Linked DNA regions of Homo sapiens: region 1 is linked to region 2. Evidence: promoter capture Hi-C in human tissues and cell types (Jung and others, 2019). All regions are on one chromosome and are shown on one strand. Each heading gives the region's core, a stretch centred on a gene start or on the middle of the fragment in contact. The rest is flanking DNA. Distances are from core to core; before and after follow the strand shown. Region 1 has its middle 44 kb from the start of CXCR4. Region 2 holds the start of CXCR4 (C-X-C motif chemokine receptor 4).

Region 1 (4,584 bases), core at 2,052-4,551, 45 kb after region 2:
TAAAAATTGGAAAGAATCTGCTGTCCCATCCACAGCTCCAATTAAAAATAAAAAACAGGAGATGGAGGATAAAAATTGGCCTATACCACCTCCTCCAGTTGCAGAAACATCAGTGCCACTTCCTTTGGTGGCAGAAATAGAGACCCCAATACAAAGAAATTTATGCTCTGCTGCCATAGCTGGAGAGCCCTTAGGACCTTGCGCTTTTCCTATTTCTGTAAGGCCTGATCCAAACAATCCACAGCAGGTTATTCATGAACACACTCCACTAGAGTTTAAGTTGTTAAAGGAATTAAAAACGAGTGTGGTAAATGATGGCATACAGAACCCATTCACCTTAGGATTGCTAGAATCTGTGTTTGGTGCTATGCGTCTTTTACCCTTTGATGTGAAACACTTGGCACGAACTTGCTTGTCCGCTAGTGCATATCCGACATGGAATTTAAATTGGCAAGAAATGTGTGCAGGCCTGGCTAAACAGAACCGTGTTGCTGGACACGCAGACACTACAGAGGATATGCTGTTAGGTAATGGCCCTTATTCAGACCTGGAACATCAAATGGCACTCCCAGACGCTGTTTATCAGCAGTGTGCACAGGCCGCTAAACGCACCTGGGTCACAATTCCTGAAGAGGGAGTTCCAGTACAATCCATTTTACATATCATACGAGGGTTGCAGGAACCCTATAAGCAATTTCTTGCAGGATTACAAGAGGCAGTGAAGCGTCAGATTCCTCATACCACGGCTGCAGAAATGCTAACCTTAACTCTAGCTTTTGAGAATGCAAATGCGGACTGTAAATGTGCACTGGCACCTGTGAGGTGTACAAAAAACTTAGGAAATTTTCTCAGAGCTCGTCAGGATGTGGGAAATGAGCTTCATCGCTCTGCAATGTTAGTGTAAGGAATGGCTAATTTAGCAGTTGACAAATCTAAAAGGAGCCAAGGGTCAAATCCTAAAATGGGAAAATGTTATGATTGTGGAAAAACTGGACATTTTAAAAAGGAATGCCACCAGATCTCAGGACAGAAAGGACCTTACAATGCGGTGCCCCCCCCAGCAGAAAAAAACGCCAGGACTTTGTCCCCACTATAACAAAGGAAATCACTGAGCTAATCAGTGCCACTCAAAATTCATCAGAATGGCACCCCCGTGCCAGGAAATGAGACGGGGGCCTGGACCCGGGCCCCACAGACAATGAAGGCATTCCCAGTCCAGACCTCAACCCCGTTTTGGGGATGGGTTCCTGGAGGCACATTGATTCCCTCACCCCAGGAACACCAGGAAGTGCAGGATTAGATCTACCCGCCAGAGAAAGAATCACGTTAGTTGGTGGAGACAAACCTATCAAATTTCCCACTGGCATTTGGGGACCTTTACAAGCAGGATATATGGGACTAATTTTAGGCAAAAGCCGCCTTAACTTGCAAGGCACTACTGTAGTCCCAGGAGTGAATGACTCCAATTATGAAGGATAAATTCAAATAGTTTTAATGTCACAAGATCTTTGGGTTTTTGAACCGGGAGAATATATTGCTTAATTATTGCTTATTCCCTGCAAATTACACCCTTCTCCATGAAAGGAGAAATTAGGAAATAAAGGGCTTGGGAGCACAACTACAAGGGAAATCTATCTATCCCAACCCATAGCCTCTAATACACCAACTTGTGTAGTACAAATTAAAGGAAAGAAATTTTATGGGCTTATGGATACAGGAGCTGATGTATCAGTAATATCTAAAGATAATTGGCCCCCATCCTGGCCCTTGCAATTAGCTTCTACATCCCTAGTGGGAGTAGGAACAGCTCAAAGTGTTCAACAGAGCACTGAGATTTTATCTTGTCTTGGTCCGGATGGACAGTCATGTATTTTTCAGCCTTATGTTGCAAGTATAGCCATCAACTTATGGGGTTGAGACTTACCTCCAGCATGGGATATGAGACTTAACAAATGAAAACTTTGACAACCTAGGGTTGAAAATGTTGAAGAACATGGGATATCAGAAGGGAAAAGGTTTAGGAAAATTTCTTCAGAGAAATCCTAACTCAATATCAGTAACTGGAAAAACAGATAGAAAAGGGCTAGGACGTCAGGATTTCTGATGGGGGTCATTGATATTTCTCCTCCACCCACTGCCTTACTATTAGAATGGTTTAGTGACAAACCTGTGCAGGTGGATCAATGGCCTCTAACACAGGAGAAGTTAGATACCTCTGGTGCTTCAACTCAATGCTCAGAGCTAACTGCTGGCATTCAGGTTTTACAGCTCACAGCTTCAGATCCTATCAACATTGTCTGTGATTCAGCTTATGTTGTAAATGTAGCCAGTTGCATAGAAACTGCTGCAGTTAAAAGTACACTAGACCCAGAACTGCTTAATTTGTTTCACTTATTCTCATATGCTGCATGCTACATGCCAAAGTGGTGAGACAGCTGGTCACGTAGGGTGACATTGTCTGTCATTATTTGCTTATATGGGAATACCTAAACAATTAAAAACTGACAGGGGACCCACTTATACTAGTCATGCTTTTCAACATTTCTTACAACTTTGGGCTATAACCCATAAAACAGGAATTCCTTGTAATCCTAGAGGACGAGGCATTGTAGAACGGGCACATCAAACATTACAATGCATGTTGAAAAAACAAAAAGGGGGTATAGGAGGCCAACTACCACCTCAATGAAAACTACATTTAGCCTTATTTACTTTAAATTTTTGGACTCCTGGTACGGATGGTAAGACTCCAGCAGAAAGACATTGGCAAGTGTTAGAGGAAAAGAGGAAAGTTAATCCAAAAGTGTTGTGGAAATCCCCACAAGAAGGACAATGGAAAGGTCCAGTGGATTTACTGACACGGGGAAGAGGATATGCTTGTGTTTTTACAGGAGATGGATAAACCGTGTGGGTGCCCTCAAGGTGCATGCCAGCATGGAACGGGAGACTGGAGGAACCCAGGGTGGCCAACCATGGGCTTGGTCCCTCTGGTATGAGCCATGAGTCAGCTGAGCTTGAGTGCAAAGACAGAGAGAAGGCCGACCAAAGACACAACACAGTTCCAATGTTACATTTGTAAAGAATATCACCACTCAATTTACAGTTTGTGTTTTTAATCCTCATGTCTTTCTAGCAGCTAAGAAGGACCAGCTCCAGGTAAACAATACCCAATTGATCTGTAAGTCTTGCCAGTTCTATCACTGCATTAATCTTAGCACATTGCAAACACATAACATCTCTCCTTTGATGATTTTAGGTCGCATCCCTATTCATCCGTCTGAGCCTTGGGCTGCTACACCTGCTTTGCCTTTTGCAAAACTTCTTCTAACTGAGCTTACTCATTGTGTCCATAGAGCCTTAGGCATGATAATTTTTGCTATTGTTTCCTTGATCACACTAATAACTTCTGTTGTGATATCTTCTGCAGCTTTGCATAGTTCTGTTCAAACAGCTCAGTACATGGAGAACTGGACATGCACAGCCGACCAAGCATGGCTACTTCAGAGTAAAATTAACACTGAGTTACAAACTGAAGTGGCAATGTTAAAATCCACAGTTCTATGGTTAGGGGAACAAGTACAAAGCTTGCAATTGCAGCAGCAATTGCATTGTCATTTTAATCACACTCATATTTGTGTAACCAACTTGGAATATAACCAAAGTGAGTATCTGTGGGACCTTGTGAAAGCCCATTTGCAGGGAACTTTCACATCCAACATCACCTTTGATATTGGTGAATTACAAAACAAAATTCTTTATTTAAATAACCCAACTCAAGAGTTTCAGCCTTCTTTAGAAGACTGCACCAAATTCCAGCAAGGCCTGGAGAGCCTCAACCCTTGGACCTATCTAAGGCACCACATTTACATCTTTTGTATGGTTCTTGGAATAATGTTGTTTTGTCTCTGTCTTCTGTTTATAGTCGGTAAAAGAGGATGGACTGCCAATTGGAGAATGAGAGCTGCCCAGCCTGGCCTTACATTCTTTCAATTAATTCATTAACAGGAAGGGAGATATGCAGGGAGCCAAAGGCCCATGGGACGTGACCAACTTGGCATTCTACTGGAGGCTATATGATCAAACAGCAAACTGTTTATCATGAATGCAGGATGTGAGCAAACTCACAACTGCTCCTGCCAACAGAAGCCAACAGAAGTTTTGCTGGAGGCAATCACTCCCTGGCACCGAGGCTATCTACTGTGATATCTAGAGCCTGTTGTTTGAGGAATACAATCTTGCAAGCCTACTCTGGATTGAGCAGCTGACCCCTTCTTCCATTCTCCTTCTCACTATCTCTTTTGCCTAATAAATACGGAGGGCTGTGTAAAGCTCGGGGCCCTTGTCCACTAGAGGCAAGGTGCCCCCTGACCCCTCTTCCAAATATACTCTTTTGTCTCTTATCTTTTATTCCCATGTTTGCCCCTCTTTGTTCAGTCCATCTAGGTCTGTGCAGGTTACAATGCATTAGCTCTTTCCTGGTTCTTCAGCTTGATGGCTGTTGGACTTGAACCTCCACATTGACTCTTCCCTGGGTCTCCAGCCTACAGGCCCACTCTGCAGATTTTGATCTTGTCAGCCTCCATA
Region 2 (4,765 bases), core at 1,602-4,101:
CTTCTGATTCCCTTTTTGTCATACAATTTGTTGGCTTTTTTATGAATATGAAAATGATTCATGTCTATTACAGAAAATCTGGAAAGCATAGAAAAACCCCAGGAAGAAAGCAAAAATCAAATATAATTCTGCACCAAGGAAAACGCCTATAAACATTTTGGTTTTCCTCCCTATATTTTCCAAATGCATATTTTAACATAACTGAGATCACACTATATACACAATTCTGAATCCTGCCTTTTGCACTTAATGTTTCATAAGTATTTCCCCATGTCACTAAAAATTCTTCACAAATAACATTCGCGATGTCCATATGGAATTTCAGATGTGGATGAACCAAAATCTTGTCAACTATTCCACTAACAGTGGTTATTTAGGGATGTTCAGACATTTCACTATTTAAAAAAAAATGTTTCCACAAATACCTTTGTGGCATAAGTTTTTATGAGTGGAGTTACTGTTCTGAAGTTCCTGCTGAATAGAAAATGCTTTCCAGTGAGGCTGTCCCAAGCCACATTCCCATCAGTGACAAGCGAGAGACAGCTGGTCTTTTCAAATCCGGAGACCAAATATTATCTTTGAAAAAAAATGGATTTTTGCCTAATTTGGTAGTCACCAAATAGCATCTCATTGTTCTTTTAATTATCTGCTTCCTTTTAGTAGAGATCCCTAAAAAGATCTGAAAGGAGTCTTCAGATAAAGGAAGGAGCTTTCTTTTGTCTGTCTACAATCAACAAATATTTATTATGCAAACCATTTTGCTCCGAGTTTTCTCCTCTTTCCCTTTTTGGACAGATTTGGGAGATCTCACCTTTCAGGTTTTAGACATCGTGCAGGGAGGAGTTTTGAGGTAGGGTGCAGCTTACGGTCCAGGATAAAACATACTGATTCTGCCACTACCAGGCTTTGTGAAAAGCAAGTCATGAAAACGCTCTGAAATTCTAGACCTTCAGTAGATAGGATCTACCGTGTCTATAAAAATATGAAGATCCTTAAGTTTTATTAAAGATTCGAAAAAAGTAAAAGTGTTTTTACGGTTTTATTTTCATTTTTATTTCTTACCGTTATCGTTTATTATAAAGGATATTATAAAGGATACAGATGAAGAGATACGTAATGCAAGGCCTGTGAGAAGGGGCGTGGAGCTTCCGAAACCTCTTCCAGCCACCACCCTCCAAGAACCTGGAGTTTCTTTTTTTTTTTTTAATTCTACAAATGTAATATTAGAATTGATTTTATCTGGCCATTAGTGTGTGTCCTAACTCGTTCGTTTCTGAGAGTCCCATCTCCCGGCCCGGATATCATCTTTCCTGTGTCAGTGAAAGTGCAGAGTAGATGAGAACCTTTAACCACCAACATTAGGGAGGGGTCCCAGACAAAGGGGGAAAGTCATGCTCTGTAGAGAAAAGGTTCCCTGCCTCCGAACTACCTCTGGAACACTCCAGACTGAAATGTTTCCTCTTTTGATATAGAAAAGAGGGATCGTGTGTAGAGTGCAGTCTGGGCAATCCCTCTCCTCGGGACCATTTCGGGGTGGGGGCCTCTGGGGTCCGTGTCGCGACGCACGCGCCTCGGTCCCAGCTATCTCCGCAGCGGCCACCCCGCCTGCGGACGCAGTTTCTCGGCCCCGCCCCACACTCGCTCCCCCGCCCCACCCAGTCTCCGCGCCGGAGGGAAGTGGCGCGAGGGGGAAAGCACTGTCTGCGCGCCCACTGCAAACCTCAGCCAGTCTGAGATCGCTTTAAACGTCTGACCCCCACCCCCACTCCGCCCCGCCCAGTTCTTCAACCTAATTTCTGATTCGTGCCAAAGCTTGTCCTCTGCTCAAAATCGTGGAAGACGCCGAGTATGGGGACCGAAGACCTGGGTTCAAGCCCGGCTTGGAATCCCTGCCCATCCCTGGCATTTCATCTCTCCGGGCTTATTTGCTGGTTTCTCCGAATGCGGGCCTTGTCTGGTTCACGCTGGATCCCCAACGCCTAGAACAGTGCGTGGCACGCAGTTCGTCCTTCTATAAATATCGGACTAAATGCATCTCTGTGATGGTAATACCCACACGGTGTTGTGAGAATGAATGAGTGATTCTGTGCAAGTTCCTAGTGATCTGTTACAAAAAGTACTGGTCGCTAAATTACTCTTATAATAAAGCATACTTTTAGGATAATAAAGCACTATTCGCGAATTGGTTACCGCTATTATGAAATTACTGAGCAATACATATCTACATCTGATCAGTCTCCAGAATTATGCCAAATCCTACCTTCTTCTGAAAGTATCTCCTAATTATCTGCACCTGACCCTAGTGATGCTGTGAATGTGCAAGTATAGCTACATCCTCCGAAGGAAGGATCTTTACTCCTTTTACCTCCTGAATGGGCTGCGTCTGCTGAAAGCGCGGGGAATGGCGTTGGAAGCTTGGCCCTACTTCCAGCATTGCCGCCTACTGGTTGGGTTACTCCAGCAAGTCACTCCCCTTCCCTGGGCCTCAGTGTCTCTACTGTAGCATTCCCAGGTCTGGAATTCCATCCACTTTAGCAAGGATGGACGCGCCACAGAGAGACGCGTTCCTAGCCCGCGCTTCCCACCTGTCTTCAGGCGCATCCCGCTTCCCTCAAACTTAGGAAATGCCTCTGGGAGGTCCTGTCCGGCTCCGGACTCACTACCGACCACCCGCAAACAGCAGGGTCCCCTGGGCTTCCCAAGCCGCGCACCTCTCCGCCCCGCCCCTGCGCCCTCCTTCCTCGCGTCTGCCCCTCTCCCCCACCCCGCCTTCTCCCTCCCCGCCCCAGCGGCGCATGCGCCGCGCTCGGAGCGTGTTTTTATAAAAGTCCGGCCGCGGCCAGAAACTTCAGTTTGTTGGCTGCGGCAGCAGGTAGCAAAGTGACGCCGAGGGCCTGAGTGCTCCAGTAGCCACCGCATCTGGAGAACCAGCGGTTACCATGGAGGGGATCAGTGTAAGTCCAGTTTCAACCTGCTTTGTCATAAATGTACAAACGTTTGAACTTAGAGCGCAGCCCCTCTCCGAGCGGGCAGAAGCGGCCAGGACATTGGAGGTACCCGTACTCCAAAAAAGGGTCACCGAAAGGAGTTTTCTTGACCATGCCTATATAGTGCGGGTGGGTGGGGGGGGAGCAGGATTGGAATCTTTTTCTCTGTGAGTCGAGGAGAAACGACTGGAAAGAGCGTTCCAGTGGCTGCATGTGTCTCCCCCTTGAGTCCCGCCGCGCGCGGCGGCTTGCACGCTGTTTGCAAACGTAAGAACATTCTGTGCACAAGTGCAGAGAAGGCGTGCGCGCTGCCTCGGGACTCAGACCACCGGTCTCTTCCTTGGGGAAGCGGGGATGTCTTGGAGCGAGTTACATTGTCTGAATTTAGAGGCGGAGGGCGGCGTGCCTGGGCTGAGTTCCCAGGAGGAGATTGCGCCCGCTTTAACTTCGGGGTTAAGCGCCTGGTGACTGTTCTTGACACTGGGTGCGTGTTTGTTAAACTCTGTGCGGCCGACGGAGCTGTGCCAGTCTCCCAGCACAGTAGGCAGAGGGCGGGAGAGGCGGGTGGACCCACCGCGCCGATCCTCTGAGGGGATCGAGTGGTGGCAGCAGCTAGGAGTTGATCCGCCCGCGCGCTTTGGGTTTGAGGGGGAAAACCTTCCCGCCGTCCGAAGCGCGCCTCTTCCCCACGGCCGCGAGTGGGTCCTGCAGTTCGAGAGTTTGGGGTCGTGCAGAGGTCAGCGGAGTGGTTTGACCTCCCCTTTGACACCGCGCAGCTGCCAGCCCTGAGATTTGCGCTCCGGGGATAGGAGCGGGTACGGGGTGAGGGGCGGGGGCGGTTAAGACCGCACCTGGGCTGCCAGGTCGCCGCCGCGAAGACTGGCAGGTGCAAGTGGGGAAACCGTTTGGCTCTCTCCGAGTCCAGTTGTGATGTTTAACCGTCGGTGGTTTCCAGAAACCTTTTGAAACCCTCTTGCTAGGGAGTTTTTGGTTTCCTGCAGCGGCGCGCAATTCAAAGACGCTCGCGGCGGAGCCGCCCAGTCGCTCCCCAGCACCCTGTGGGACAGAGCCTGGCGTGTCGCCCAGCGGAGCCCCTGCAGCGCTGCTTGCGGGCGGTTGGCGTGGGTGTAGTGGGCAGCCGCGGCGGCCCGGGGCTGGACGACCCGGCCCCCCGCGTGCCCACCGCCTGGAGGCTTCCAGCTGCCCACCTCCGGCCGGGTTAACTGGATCAGTGGCGGGGTAATGGGAAGCCACCCGGGAGAGTGAGGAAATGAAACTTGGGGCGAGGACCACGGGTGCAGACCCCGTTACCTTCTCCACCCAGGAAAATGCCCCGCTCCCTAACGTCCCAAACGCGCCAAGTGATAAACACGAGGATGGCAAGAGACCCACACACCGGAGGAGCGCCCGCTTGGGGGAGGAGGTGCCGTTTGTTCATTTTCTGACACTCCCGCCCAATATACCCCAAGCACCGAAGGGCCTTCGTTTTAAGACCGCATTCTCTTTACCCACTACAAGTTGCTTGAAGCCCAGAATGGTTTGTATTTAGGCAGGCGTGGGAAAATTAAGTTTTTGCGCTTTAGGAGAATGAGTCTTTGCAACGCCCCCGCCCTCCCCCCGTGATCCTCCCTTCTCCCCTCTTCCCTCCCTGGGCGAAAAACTTCTTACAAAAAGTTAATCACTGCCCCTCCTAGCAGCACCCACCCCACCCCCCACGCCGCCTGGGAGTGGCCTCTTTGTGTGTATTTTTTTTTTCCTCCTAAGGAAGGTTTTTTTTC

What was found. Contacts are between HindIII fragments. The study calls those that stand out against the background at their distance.
Region 1: a contact is called between a fragment that was not itself captured here and the fragment with the promoter of CXCR4 in region 2, in 2 of the 25 tissues and cell types used here (H1 embryonic stem cells and spleen).

What each region holds. Positions count from the first base shown.
Region 1 is chr2:136,071,693-136,076,276 of GRCh38, reverse strand. No RefSeq gene overlaps it. Among named protein-coding and RNA genes, the nearest start is that of CXCR4, 44 kb to the left of the region's middle. The HindIII fragment of the contact is 5,764 bases long and covers 420-4,584 here.
Region 2 is chr2:136,116,235-136,120,999 of GRCh38, reverse strand. It overlaps CXCR4 (C-X-C motif chemokine receptor 4), which reads left to right and starts at 2,851. Exons shown (of 2, transcript NM_003467.3): 1 at 2,851-2,954. The coding sequence starts at 2,940. RefSeq lists an enhancer at 3,860-3,929 and a silencer at 4,060-4,229. The HindIII fragment of the contact is 8,205 bases long and covers 2,114-4,765 here.